Linked DNA regions of Homo sapiens: all the other regions are linked to region 5. Evidence: promoter capture Hi-C in 16 types of primary human blood cells and fetal thymus (Javierre and others, 2016). All regions are on one chromosome and are shown on one strand. The core of a region is centred on a gene start or on the middle of the fragment in contact, and the rest is flanking DNA. Distances in the headings are between cores, read along the strand shown.

What was found. Contacts are between HindIII fragments. The CHiCAGO score rates a contact against its expected background, and 5 or more counts as called.
Region 1: a fragment that was not itself captured here is called in contact with the fragment with the promoter of TBC1D15 in region 5 in 1 of 17 cell types (non-activated CD4 T cells); the score reaches 5.1 in non-activated CD4 T cells.
Region 2: a contact is called between a fragment that was not itself captured here and the fragment with the promoter of TBC1D15 in region 5, in 1 of 17 cell types (activated CD4 T cells). The highest score is 5.6, in activated CD4 T cells.
Region 3: a contact is called between a fragment that was not itself captured here and the fragment with the promoter of TBC1D15 in region 5, in 1 of 17 cell types (naive CD8 T cells). The highest score is 6.8, in naive CD8 T cells.
Region 4: a fragment that was not itself captured here is called in contact with the fragment with the promoter of TBC1D15 in region 5 in 4 of 17 cell types (total CD4 T cells, total B cells, non-activated CD4 T cells and 1 more); the score reaches 6.0 in total CD4 T cells.

Annotation. Positions count from the first base shown.
Region 1 is chr12:70,350,496-70,353,195 of GRCh38, reverse strand. All of the region lies in intron 15 of CNOT2 (CCR4-NOT transcription complex subunit 2), which reads right to left. Among named protein-coding and RNA genes, the nearest start is that of KCNMB4, 14 kb to the left of the region's middle. RefSeq lists a silencer at 961-1,161. The HindIII fragment of the contact is 1,420 bases long and covers 561-1,980 here.
Region 2 is chr12:70,231,086-70,233,785 of GRCh38, reverse strand. All of the region lies in intron 3 of PRANCR (progenitor renewal associated non-coding RNA), which reads left to right. Among named protein-coding and RNA genes, the nearest start is that of PRANCR, 11 kb to the left of the region's middle. The HindIII fragment of the contact is 1,652 bases long and covers 541-2,192 here.
Region 3 is chr12:70,252,452-70,255,151 of GRCh38, reverse strand. All of the region lies in intron 1 of CNOT2 (CCR4-NOT transcription complex subunit 2), which reads right to left. Among named protein-coding and RNA genes, the nearest start is that of CNOT2, 10 kb to the right of the region's middle. The HindIII fragment of the contact is 4,496 bases long and covers 1-2,700 here.
Region 4 is chr12:70,368,826-70,371,525 of GRCh38, reverse strand. All of the region lies in intron 1 of KCNMB4 (potassium calcium-activated channel subfamily M regulatory beta subunit 4), which reads right to left. Among named protein-coding and RNA genes, the nearest start is that of KCNMB4, 3.9 kb to the right of the region's middle. RefSeq lists a silencer at 1,481-1,681. The HindIII fragment of the contact is 5,253 bases long and covers 1-2,700 here.
Region 5 is chr12:71,838,433-71,841,132 of GRCh38, reverse strand. It overlaps TBC1D15 (TBC1 domain family member 15), which reads right to left and starts at 1,374. Exons shown (of 17, transcript NM_001146213.3): 1 at 1,322-1,374. The coding sequence starts at 1,351. The HindIII fragment of the contact is 6,842 bases long and covers 1-2,700 here.

The DNA.
Region 1 (2,700 bases), core at 21-2,520, 1.5 Mb after region 5:
GAGGCTGAGGCAGGAGAATCGCTTGAACCTGGCAGGTGGAGGTTGCAGTGAGCCAAGATTGCACCACTGCACTCCAGCCCAGATGACAAAGCAAGACTCCGTCTAAAAAAAAAAAAAAAAGGAAAACACATAAAATTATTCTAACCTCATTAAAATCTGGGGAAAATAATGAACTTAAAACTCACACATCACTAGACTTGCATTTCACAAACCCAAAACCCTGACTCAAATATAAATCAACTGCCACCGAAAACTAGACAATGGTTCTGCTGTAGGAACATTTGAAAACTAGATAGCAGCTCACTTTAATCAAACTTTCAAAATACTGTATTAACTTCATGAGTTTTAAAATTTAAGAATGGTGACATAATTTCTTCATGATACTTCCCACCCAAGATCAAGAATAGAGATGCAGAATAGCTATGTATATTAGAAAAAAATGCAAACAACAAATACCTCTGCAACCCCAATAAGCAAGAGGCTCTAAAAGCCTCTTACCAATTCTACCATCTGAATTAGCACAAATTACTGCATAATCCAACTTAAAGAATTATGAAGCTTAATATGTATTATGTATTAAAGATTAAGGCAACAAGTGACATTAGCTACCATGGGTTAACATATTTTACCTTATCTGTCTGGTTTCAAACTGATTCCATGATGAGTATTTCCATTATTAAATTAAAATGAAAACCTAGACTATAATGACCAAATTTTAAGATGGAACACCAAGTATTTAAAATTTAAAGATATTACACTTAAATAAATTTAAAGATATTACAGACCTAACAGCAGAATTTATTGAAAGCCTAGTATGTGCTAAAATTAGAGATACAGCTAATTTTATTCTAATCTTTGTAATAATTCTGTAAAGCAGATATCATTATTTTCATTTTGTACCTGAAGAAAATGAGGCTTACAAGTAACTTGGACAAGTCATCAGTAAGCGGCACACCTAGCATTAGGATCCAGACCCATGTGACAAAAAGCCTCCATGTGACAAAAAGCCTGTGTCTTTTGTAGTGTAACACATTATTTTTAATATTTTTAGTCCAAGATCCAAAACAGATTCATTTACTTCATTACAAGGCAATCCAGAAATGCTGAAAGAATTCAGTCCCCTTCTCTCTTGGTATAAGGTGAAGAAAAAGGAAAAAAAAAATCAGTCCCCTGAGAGTTTATAAAGAAGGTACACCATGGTGACTTTAGCCTGAAAAGGTTGCCTTCATGTGACTGGTACAGTAATTAAGACACAGAGGTTATTTGCTTATCAGTAAAAATTAGCAAACACCAGAATCACCACCACAACCATGACATCCTGCCCTAATACACTGTGTAGCACTACTCCCCCTCTCCCAGCCCTAGCTAGGAATTAAAATAATTTTATTGCTTGGTTCAAGTTGACTATCTGAATTCGTGAAGAAAATTTGTTATCATTCTTCTGAAATTAAAATTGGCATTTTTGTTTTCAAAATGTGTAGTTACAGGGAAAAAAAGTCTAATTGTAACTTCCACAAAGTGGTAAGTTATACTGAGTAAGTTAACTAAAATTTTTCACATTGATGAACTACAATGTATGACTAGGAATTCAAACTAGATTAACTTTATCAATGTACATTTTCCCCCAGAAAAATATAGTTTAAACCTAAGCAGCGTAAATAATTTTGATATAGAGATTTAGAAATTTTGATATAGAGATCAGAGATTTAGAAATTACATAGGTAAAATTTTGCCTTCCACGTTTTAAAATCTTGTTTTCCACGTACTTTTATTCTTCTTAAAATACATAAGTTACTTTGATTACTGGTAACACCATTTACATGTTTGTTATATATACACACACATACTACACACATGCACAACCTCATACATTCTGTAGGAGCAAGTGTCTATCTACTTTGTATACTACTACCTACAACTTGGAATAGTGCCAAGCCCCTAATGGATGTGTAATTAATATATGATGAATAAACACAAGCTTTCTTCCTTTGTTTTAGGAACAAAACATTTAATTTTTCTAATATTATCAAATGATACATTAGAGGGTCTATGTATATATTTGCTTTTAGTGGAAAAAAAAGGATTTCTAGATTATAATATGATTGCAAAGGCTAGAAAGAGTTCCAAATACTTTTTAGACAACTTTTTCATACCTTAGTTCTTCTATTAATAAAATTAGGCTATGTATTCTCCAAAGGTTACTTGTTCAATTCAAGCAAAACTGAATGCAATGGATTCATATAGTCAAATAATATTACAAAAACATTAATGTAATCACTGATCTAGTTATGTAGAGAAACACACACTGCAGAGGTGTTTTCTCAAATTCTCATGAAATGTCAGCTTTCTCTTACCTACATGTTGAGTATCTCTTATCTGAGATTTTGCTTATTCTGGGAACAGAAGTGTTTGGATTTTGGAATATTTATACATATAAAATGAGGTATCTTGGGGATGGGACCCAAGTCTAACCATGAAATTCATTTATGTTTTATATATACCTTATTCACATACCCTGAGGGTAATTTTATACAATGTTACTAATATTTTGTGCAGAAAATAAGGTTTGTTTACACTGTACACTGAACCATCAGAAAGCAAAGGTGTCAGGTATGGAATTTTCCACTTGTGACACCATGTTGGCATTCAGAAGTTACAGATTTTGGAGTATTCAGGTTTTAGATTTTTGAATCAGAATGC
Region 2 (2,700 bases), core at 117-2,616, 1.6 Mb after region 5:
CTAAAATATTTTAAGTTAACATTAATGTGTAAGTTTTTTGTTAAGCCTAAATCATCACTGGAAATAGAGCACAGATTTATTTGAATTTGAGATACCTATGTTGCTATGTGATAACTCAATTTTCCTAACAGTTTTCTCTTACGATTTTTTTGAAACCTTTATACCAGAAGCAAGCAATTACAGTATTTGACCTTTACCTGGCATAAATGGATCATTAATTAACTTACTCTTTACTGTAGTCCAGGGCAATTTTAAGTTAGATAGTCTGGCTCCAACTCCATTATAAGCAAACAAAAACATGGGCACTCAAGTCGAAGTATTTATTTATATAATGGTGTTTTTTTAATCCAAAACAGAGTTATGTTAACTTTTAGATTACCTTTGAAATAAAGCTACAAAACTAAAGATTTTTTGTGAGAACTCACAAATACTAAAGAATATGTTAGTGGGCCACTAGGGATTTAAGAAGCAAGATTATGAGCGTAAGGGTTTTGAATAGCTAAGATCTGCAATTTTATCTAACCGAAACACATGCAAGCTTCAGTGCCCTTTGAAAAAAATGCAGTATTTTAAAAATTACTTCTACAAACCTCAGTTTTGCTGCCTAAAATTCGAGCATAAAAATATGACTATGCCTTTCAGGATTGTCATAAAAATTTTATCGGATGGGCCAGGCGCGGTGGCTCACGCCTGTAATCTCAGCACTTTGGGAGGTCGGGGCGAGCAGATCACGAGGTCAGGAGATCGAGACCATCCTGGCTAATACGGTGAAACCCCATCTCTACTAAAAATACAAAAAACTTAGCCCGGCGTGGTGGTGGGCGCCTGTAGTCCCAGCTACTCGAGGCTAAGGCAGGAGAATGGCATGAACCCGGGAGGTGGAGCTTGCGGTGAGCCGAGATTGCGCCACTGCACTCCAGCATGGATGACAGAGCGAGACTCCATCTCAAAAAAAAAAAAAAATTTCATCAGACGACATATGCAAATGCTTAGTATAGTGTATGGAATGAACCAACCACTCAAATAGTTGCGATGATGATGATAATAGTTTTATGTGGAAAACCACACGTAATCTAAGAATTTTTAATAAAATTACTAATGAGGCACCTGAAAAGGAAAATGCAAGAAAATAATAGACTATATAGACAGCCATGTAAAAAAACAACAACAGAAATATAAATGTGCTAGCTAGTTGAGTTAAATATTTTCTGTTGAGAACTAAAATCAGGTAAGGTGGGGACGTAAAACATATCCCTAAATGATTACATTTTATAGCGTCAACTAGTGATCATGTTTTATTTTCCTGCCATAAAAATATGTTTTTAAGTCACTTTAAAAAATAAACATGTTAACTAATCTTGAGTTTATGTAATGGCATCCCTTTCACAATTACTAAGAGGGTTTTAAAAGACGCACCACTTTTTAAAGACATTGTTTAGAAGAAGATAGTTACCAGATATTTACAACAGTTCTTAAACAACCTTACATTTTTAATATGATGTCCAACTCTGAAGTAGTTAGAATTGATAGTGTTAATTAAGATTTTTAAAAACACTGCCTAATGTAGAGGTAAACACCATATTTTATAAAACACTTATTGTACTTCCTCAGTAAGAGTAAGATTAGTTTCCATTAGATTCTAGATTATAAAAGTTGCTACAGCTGCCATAACTTTGGTGAAGGTGATTCTGGAGGAATATTATCCCAAAACCTCTTCTTTTCCTTCTAATGAAGCAGCCTGCAATTAGGAAACAACTCTTCATAAGCATAACCCATATAAGCGAGCATGTAATAGTTAAATGGCAAAATCCAGAGAAACAGCCAATTGATCTTTTACAAACTCAGCAGCTGCCACTGAAGAAACAGGTGATAATGTAGCACAAAAAGATACCGTAAAACACAGGACTTCTAAATACTTAGTAAGGAAGACCTTTTTGAAAGCCTTATCCTGAAAACATCTCTTCTTGCTAAAAGCTAGGGAATCTTAGAATCTTATTAAAAACAACACCACTTACAATAGAGCAGAGGGAAGAGAAAATCTGTTTTGAATGAACCAACAACAACAGACATATTTATTATACTTTTTTTTAATTTATAAGAAAAAAAGATTTAATTGGATCACAGTTCTGCAGGCTGTACAGGAAGCATGGTACCAGAATCTGCCTGACTTCTAATGAGGGCTTCAGGAAGCTTACAATCATGGTGGAAGGTGAAGGGTGAGCAGGCATCTCAACATGGTGGAGTGGGAGCAAAAGAGAGCTATTACACTTCTTTAATTAAGTTAAAGAATTTACTTGGCTTTGCCTAGTTCCTTATAGAAACAAAAATTACAAAAAGGGAATGAAGGAGGGAGAGAGGAAGGAAAAAGGAAGGAAGAAAAAAAGGAAAAGGGAAAGGAAAAAGGAAAGGAAAAAGTAAAAGGAAAGGAAGGTTCTAAACTAGATTCCTCAGTACACTAGTTCCATAAGATACTGGTAAGTATTCTGTTAAAAAGCAAAGGATTTCATTGTAATGCTCTGAATTAAGAGGTTTCATTATTGCCAAATTTGTTTGTTACTTTTTTTTCTTCTTCTTTTTTTTTTTTTCCCCGTATGTTTTTGAGACAGGGTCTCACTCTGTCACCCAGGCTAGAGTACAGTGTGGCGCAATCAGAGCTCACTGCAGTCTCCAACTCCTGGGCTCAAGTGATCCACTCACCTC
Region 3 (2,700 bases), core at 22-2,521, 1.6 Mb after region 5:
TAGAGAAAGCATCAGGACCTCAGCATGCAAAAATACTCAATTAACTGGCCTGCTCCGATGAACATAGCAGAATCTTTTTTTACCACTCCCACAATCTCTCCAAACTCCCCTCCCAAAGTCCAATAAGCCAGTTTTCTTTTTTTCTTCTTCTTCTTTTTTTTTTTTTTTTTTGAGATGCAGTCTTGCTCTGTCACCCAGGCTGGTGTACACTGGCATGATGTCAACTCACTGCAACCTCCGCCTCCCAGGTTCAAGCGATTCTCCTGCCACAGCCTCCCAAGCATCTCGGATTAGAGACACGTGCCACCATGCCTGGCTAATTTTTTGTATTTTTAGTAGAGACAGGGTTTTCCATGTTGGCCAGGCTGATCTTGAACTCCTAAAACTTACAATCCACCCGCCTCGGCCTCCCAAAGTGCTGGGATTACAGGCATGAGCTACTGCGCCTAGCCTAATAAACCAGATATCTATTTAAATAAAAATGCATAAAGGGCAAAGCACCCAAATGCAGCAGCATCACCAGGTAAAAATGAATGAATCATTCAATCATACAACTTAAGAAACTACAGTAGTTCTCCCCTTATCCGCGGTTTCTTCTTCTTCAGTTTCAGTTATTCATGGTGAACCGCAGTACAAAAATATTACATGGAAAATTCCAGAAATAAATAATTCATACGTTTTAAATTGGGCACCAGTCTGAGGAGTGTGATGAAATTTTCTGACATCCCGCTCCATCCCACCTGGGACATGATATCCTTGCTACATATGCTACCCACCCCTTATTCACATTAGTAACTATCTTGATTATCAGACTGACAGATCACAAGAAGTACAGTACAAGAGGTGTTTTGAGAGAGAGATCACATTCATTTAACTTTTTTATATTATATAATTGTTCTTTTTTTTTTTTTTTTGAGACAGAGTCTCGCTCTGTCCCCCAGGCTGGAGTGCAGTGGCGTGATCTCGGCTCACTGCAAACTCCACCTCCCGGGTTCAAGCGATTCTCCTGCCTCCGCCTCCTGAGTAGCTAGGACTACAGGCGCGTGCCACCACTCCCGGCTAATTTTTGTATTTTTTAGTAGAGGCGGGGTTTCATCGTGCTAGCCAGGATGGTCTCAATCTCCTGACCTCGTGATCTGCCCGCCTTGGTCTCCCAAAGTGTTGGGACTACAGGCGTGAGCCACTGCGCCTGGCCTATTTTATTATTAGCTATTGTTGCTCATCTCTTATTGTACCTAATGTGCAAGTTAAACTTTATCATAGGTATGTATGTATAGGGGGGAACAGTACATATAAGGTTCAGTGCTATCTGTAGTTTCAGGCATCCACTGGGGTCTCAGAACATATTTCCCCTTGAATTAAGGGGAAACTACTATACTAGTTTCACTACAGTAACTAATAATCAGGAATAATTATCATGATACTTTGACATGCTCTACAGTTAAACACTTTTTCTTTCATTATCTGAGTTGCCATCAGCAACACTGGGAGGTATAAATTATCAAACAGCTGAGGCTCTTCAATACTAATTGATTTGTCCAGGCACACAGCTAGTAAGTTTATAGAGCCCAGACTGGAACCCATCATCTGAATCAAAGTGTGAAGTCTTTCCAAAATAATATATTATCTCTTCATTAAAGATGAGCACGTACTCAATGGTACATTTCTCAACTTTCAAAAAAATAAATAAAAGGTGCTAAGTGTTTCTTCTGAACTTCCAGGATTTTTGCAATTTTTGCTCTAAATAAAGGAAATGGCATGGGAACCAACAACAGTAAATACCTACTTGTCAGGAGTTTTACAGGGTCATATTTAAACCTACTAAATACACTTAAGGGAAGAAAATATTTTATTAATTTTAAGGAAGAAAACAGGCACAGAAGAAAAAACTACTACAGGTAACTAACTCTGCACTATTCAGGTTGAAAAAGGTAGACACCAGTCTGTCTGAATCCTAACCCATTAGATTTATCCCACTTAACACAGGAATTATTAAATGCCTATTATGTGCCCTGTGCTTTGCCAAGTACTACAGACAGAGCAATATGACGATTTATTTATGTTACTCAAAATATTACACATCTTACTTCACAGAAGGTCATCTAAACAAAATTCCTGGTAGGAAAAACATGTTTAGACTCTAAGAGCAAGACTGCATTCTTGTTTACATTTACGAATCTGATACAAAAAAGAGTATAGTGCACTCTATGAAATAAATTGTGGCTAATTCTTGTATACCCCAGAAGCTCCTCTTTAACCTAACAAGTCCCACTCCAAAACGAACACGAACAAAAAACCCACAAAAAACTTTAATCCTTACATCAGTTCTACTGGGTAAGTATTGTTATTTATCTACATTTTTCTTTGTTTTTATTTATTTATTTTTATCTACATTTTTCAAATGAGAAAACTGAAGTATAGGGAGAATAAGTCACCTAGCCAATTGAAAACAGTACAACGGTGATTCCATTTCAGGCTGGTTAGTTCCAGGCATTATGAACATCATGTAAAATTTCAGAATATAACTCTCTTTAATAGCAGATAGATCAGCTCCATTTTACTCAGTCAAAAGTGAACTAAATAGACAATCAGGCTACGTGGGCAGCTCTAAATGCCATAGTTGAACCATTAACTTTTGTTATGATAAAATAGTATATAATGCATACAATAAAAGCAATAATTTAGGCCAGTAATCCCAGC
Region 4 (2,700 bases), core at 49-2,548, 1.5 Mb after region 5:
AGTTCTGATATGATGGATGTCTCTAGAGCGCAAAATGTATCAAACTGAATGTTCCAGGAAGGAGTTCAGAAACAATTCCAGGCAGGCCACACTGCCTCTCCTACAGTGCACTGGGACAGGGTACATGAGTGGATGTGGAGAGGGCCTAGGTGACTGTGAGCCACCACGCCCTGTAGTTAGGTACATCCAACTTCAGCAAACGTAATGCCTGAAGCCTTATTCAGTCCCACCTAAGTTTTTCTTCTCCTTAATGCATTTCTCTCACTTCTAGAGTACTGGTTTCTTAGAAGGAGCCTTTTATCCTTTGTTTCTAGGTTTTTATTATTAGAGGAAGGGGAAAAAAAAACTCAAAATAAAAATAAACATATAGACCGGGCGTGTTGGCTCACGCCTGTAATCCCAGCACTTTGGGAGGCTGAGGCAGGGGGATCACTTGAGGCCAGGAGTTGGAGACCCGCCTGGCCAACATAGTGAAACCCTGTCTCTACTAAATATACAAAAATTAGCTGGGTGTGGTAGCACATGCCCGTAAGCCCAGCTACTTGGGTGGCTGATGCAGGGGAATTGCTTGAACCCAGGAGGCGGAAGTTGCAGTGAGCTGAGATCATGCCACTGCACTCCAGCCTGGACAACAGAATGAGACTCAAAAATAAATAAATAAATAAATGAAATAACCATATTATCTCTAATCACTCACTCTGTCTTGTCTCACATACAAGAGGGCAGTTTTAAAAACTCACCTTTTTTTTTTTTTGGCCATCCAATGTATATAATTATGCAAATGCAAATGTCTGGAATCAAGTTCATTTCATTTAAACTTATTGGTTTTAAACTATTATTTACATAATAATTTTAAATAATACTCTCCCTTTCCTTCAGAATTTCCTTTTATACCGACTCCCTAAATTCAGTAGCACTGGCCGGGCGCGGTGGCTCATGCCTGTAATCCCAGCCCTTTGGGAGGCCAAGGCAGGGGTGGATCACGAGGTCAGGAGATCGAGACCATCCTGGCTAACATGGTGAAACCTCATCTCACTAAAAATAGAAAAAATTAGCCAGGCGTGGTGGTGGGCGCCTGTAGTCCCAGCTACTCGGGAGGCTGAGGCAGGAGAATGGCATGAACCAGGGAGGCGGAGCTTGCAGTGAGCCGAGATCATGCCAATGCACTCCAGCCTGGGCGACAGAGCGAGACTCTGTCTCAAAAAAAAAACAAAAAAACAAAAAAAAACAAAAAATTCAGTAGCACCAACAATATCTTTTAATCTGAAAACACAAATATTAATCACAATGACTCCTTTTTGGTTCTCAGGTTGTTTTTCTTGCACAGCAGATGAGAACATTTTCTAAGACAGTGGTTTTTGAATCTTGTCTTCACATTAGAATCATCACAGAACTTTTAAAAAACATCAATGCCCAGGCCCCACCCAAGACCAAATCAGAATCTTGGAGAGTTGGACCCAGCCATAAGAACTTCTTTTTAAAGTTCCCCTGGTGATTCTAAGGTACAGCCATAGGTGAGAACCAAAGCTCCTAGCATATACAACTGTGAGTCACCAAGAGATAGTGCAGTGACTGGAATAGTAGCAAGAGGAAGTTGACCCCGAATTTAGATTTTGCTATGGTTAATCCACAGAGATAATCTCCCTGTGGACAATTTGTTGCCTTGAATACTCTATTACAAGACTGGATATAGTGATTGCTTTAGACAATAAGGATATGATTCAAAATACAAATAAATTCAGTAGGAACTCAAGGTATTTTAAAGAAATTATTAGTCAAAGATCAAATTTACTCACAGTATCTTCTTCAGCAGCTTATGGCTTAAGAAATTCTGTATTTGCAATGTATTCTTTCCCTCTCCTGCCTCTTACTGTAATTAATGCAGGAAACTCAAGGGAGAGGAAAAAACTCCTTATTCTATTTTTTCTAAGAAGTGATTTCCTAAGTGGTTTCTTGTGTTGGTGGGTCATGAAGAAAAGCCTGGAGGCGGCTGGGATTCAAGACACTGTTGGGAATCTAGACATTCTACAAAGAAACAGAGGGGAAGCATAGGCCTTCAATAAAGAGGTAAAGTAAGGCAAAGAAAAGATCTAGGCAGCCAAGAGCCAACAGGAATGGACAATGGGTATTGCCTAATTGCAGGGACACTGTGGAAACACTCTGCTTATGTACATGACTCTGGCATAATATTTTTATTACATTGAATTTTTCCATCACACTGCCTATAAGAATTTCCAAATTGAGAATTTATTGGTCAAAAATAGAAAGGTGATGCTAAAGAACAAACTTACAGTCTATAAATGATACAACATAATTATAATCTGGATAAAGAGATATAAATTGGTTTGGCTGAGAAAACCTTGACTAAAATGAATAGGATGTTGTCCATGACTTCTGTAACATAAATATATTCTTCTCCAGTTCTGTCAGTTCCTGAATACTTTACTTTATAAAATGTATTTTGTTCAGGTACTTTTTCAAAACAACTGTTGCCAAGATCTGAACTGGCACTGGAAAAAAAATGATTATTTTCAGGGGAGAGAGAGATAAAGAAAAGAGAGAGGAGAAATTTTAGTATTACATAAAGCATTGGGATTGCTTCTAGGTAATTTAAAAATCAACGTCCCAATGATTTCAATTTACTTTTTCTGCCAGATACTTCAAACTGCCTGAAAATTGTGAAGCAGTCTTTTTGTAATA
Region 5 (2,700 bases), core at 125-2,624:
GCAGTAAGTCAAGCAGTATATCAGCATCCACCCTGAATATAAAAAGAAAAAAACTGACAAGACAACCAAGGAGCACGAATAATCCAAAAAAGGATGCCCACCTATCCTTTAAAAGAGCCAGTAGGTACAAGTGTGTAATTTTATGTTTTTTTAAAAAAAAATTTATATAACCCTAACAACTCCAATACAAGAAATAATGATTGGCATCTCCTCCATTCTACAGATAAAGAACGCGAAAAGACAAAAGTCACAATTGCCCAATTTTCCAAGGTCATACTTCAGATTAACAGCAAAACCAAGCCCATATTTGTCATTCAGCCGCCTAGTCTAATACTCCAAACACCAAACCACAAACGCTGTCAAATAATTCAAAATGGGGTAGGGAAAGCAACAGGGAGACATGAGTGAAACTCAAGGAACAGAGGACGCTATCTGCAATGAGTAAACAACCATTAGTGTTCGATGAGTCACTTCAGTTGATTCCAGCTGTTTATGAAATACTCCTGCACTGGGAAATACTATCGGTGGCATATCATAAAGCTGATAGCCCTAACTATGCATAAGATGTGCCCTCGGAACGCGAATAGGCACTATTCGACGAAATCTCCGCACGTAATTCTAGTTTCCAACGAAATTAGGCGTGTCACTGACCACCTCCGTAAACCAGCATGACCAATACTCCTACTGAAATGCCTAGGAAATAAATATTTGGACGCCTTCCTAGACAAGCACAGGATGGTGTAAATCTCCATTTCTCTCAGGAAACACGTCCTGCTGCTCACAACCACCAACCAACTCAGCAGCTTGGTAAAAACAGACCCAATACACTCGTTTCTTCTAAGCGCACAGCTAGCTGCCTAGCATCTATTCAGCTCCTCCCGAAGGAAGCATAAACATCTTCACCAAACTGTAGCAAAGAAGACAGAGGCAAGTCGGGTTAACGCTTCAAAGAGAGAAAAGACGCTGGAGTCAGAAGAGTAGACATAAAGAACTAGAGTCAAGAAACAGTGAATCGGGGGAAAAAAGGAACTAGAGAGCCACCTGTCCCTTAGTAAAGGTAATACGAATAAAAGCCTCTCTGCTCTGGGGCAGAAGAGCGCCGAGGCCTAGCTGGCCTTGGAGCAGTAGCCGGCTCTATAACTCCGCGGCTGAACTGGCATTCTCGGGAAACCAGCTGGTACCACCCAGTCTTCTCCTACAGACGCCACGGGTTGTCCGGACACAGAAAGTCCCTCGTGTCCCTCCCCCAACCAGCTGCCAGGGAGCAAAAGCATCCCCGTCCCAGAGAAAAGCCGAGGTCTTCCTGGAGGCCGTTACCTACCTTCCCGCTCACAACACCCGCCGCCGCCATGTTTCCTGCGCGTGCCTGGTAATGACGTAGCAGAACCTCACGTGTCTCTCGGACATACAACAACATCCGGCAAAACTAGAATAACATCCGGGCGGGAAAAGGGCGGGGAGTGGCGGGAAGGGAGTGGAGGAAAGGAGCCGGGCGGAAAAAAGCCGCCTGACGCGTGCGTGCTGAACTGGGCTCAGAGACGGCTGGGGTGGAGTCTCAGGCCTAACGCTACGCTTGTGCTTGCCCCACGTCCTCCCCAAGGAAGACTGCTAAAATAATGTGTACCTTACTTGTATTGGAGTTTGTCGAGACTCTGAAGCTAGCGCAGGCCACGCCAGTTTGGTGAGATGAAACGAATACCATACTGGAAGCCAGCAAGATTTGTCCTGGTTTTTTGTTGTTGTTGTAGAAAAGGAGTCTCGCTCTGTCGCTCAGGCTGGAGTGCAGTGGCGCGATCTCGGCTCATTGCAGCCTCCGCCACTCGGTTCAAGCGATTCTCAAGCCTCAGCCTCCCGGGTAGCTGGGATTACAGGCGCGCGTCAAACGCCCAGCTAATTTTTAAATTTTTATTAGAGACGAGATTTCGCCAATGTTGCCCAGGCTGGTCTCGAACTCCTGACTTCAGGTGATCCGTCCGCTTCAGCCTTTGCCCAGAGAGCTGGGATTACAGGCTTGAGCCACCGCGCCCAGCCCATTAGCCTGGTTTTGTGGCAGTAGGCAAATCACCAGTGCACTCGAAACCTCAGTTTCTTATAGTAAAATCAAGATAGTGGCGTTGCGGTGAAGATCCAAGAAAGAGCAGCACTAACATGGAGATATCCCAGGCACTATACATGGAGACTTTTCCCCTCTGTATATGAGGTTTCTCTATTTGTCTGGTCACTGCCACTCACACATGACCTCCAGCAAGGTATTTCGATAGGAACTGTGATAATACCACGCCCTCATAGCTGCAGAGCCCAAGGCACATAGTTTATAGCACCTACACATTACTTATTAGCTCTGTGACTTAAAGCAGGTTTCTAAATTTATCAGAGCTTCAGGATGTAAACTGGGAATTACTCCTGCATGGAGTGGTTGTAGGGATTTCATACGACAATACATGTGTGGTAAAATGATTTGTAAAGATACTAAGGTAAGAATTTTACTTGTTCTCAGTGCTGTAAAAGAATGCAGAGAATGATTATATACTACCCCCTTGATAACTCTGGCACAGATCTGGGATTTCCCTAGCTCCGGGGCAGAATAAAAAGTCCCTTTCACCAAAAACACTTGTGTCCATTGAGGTACTTCCGTCTTCACACAGTGGAGAGGGGTTAGAGGCTTTTGAGTTTGGTTGAGGTAGGTGGCAACTAGCTGAA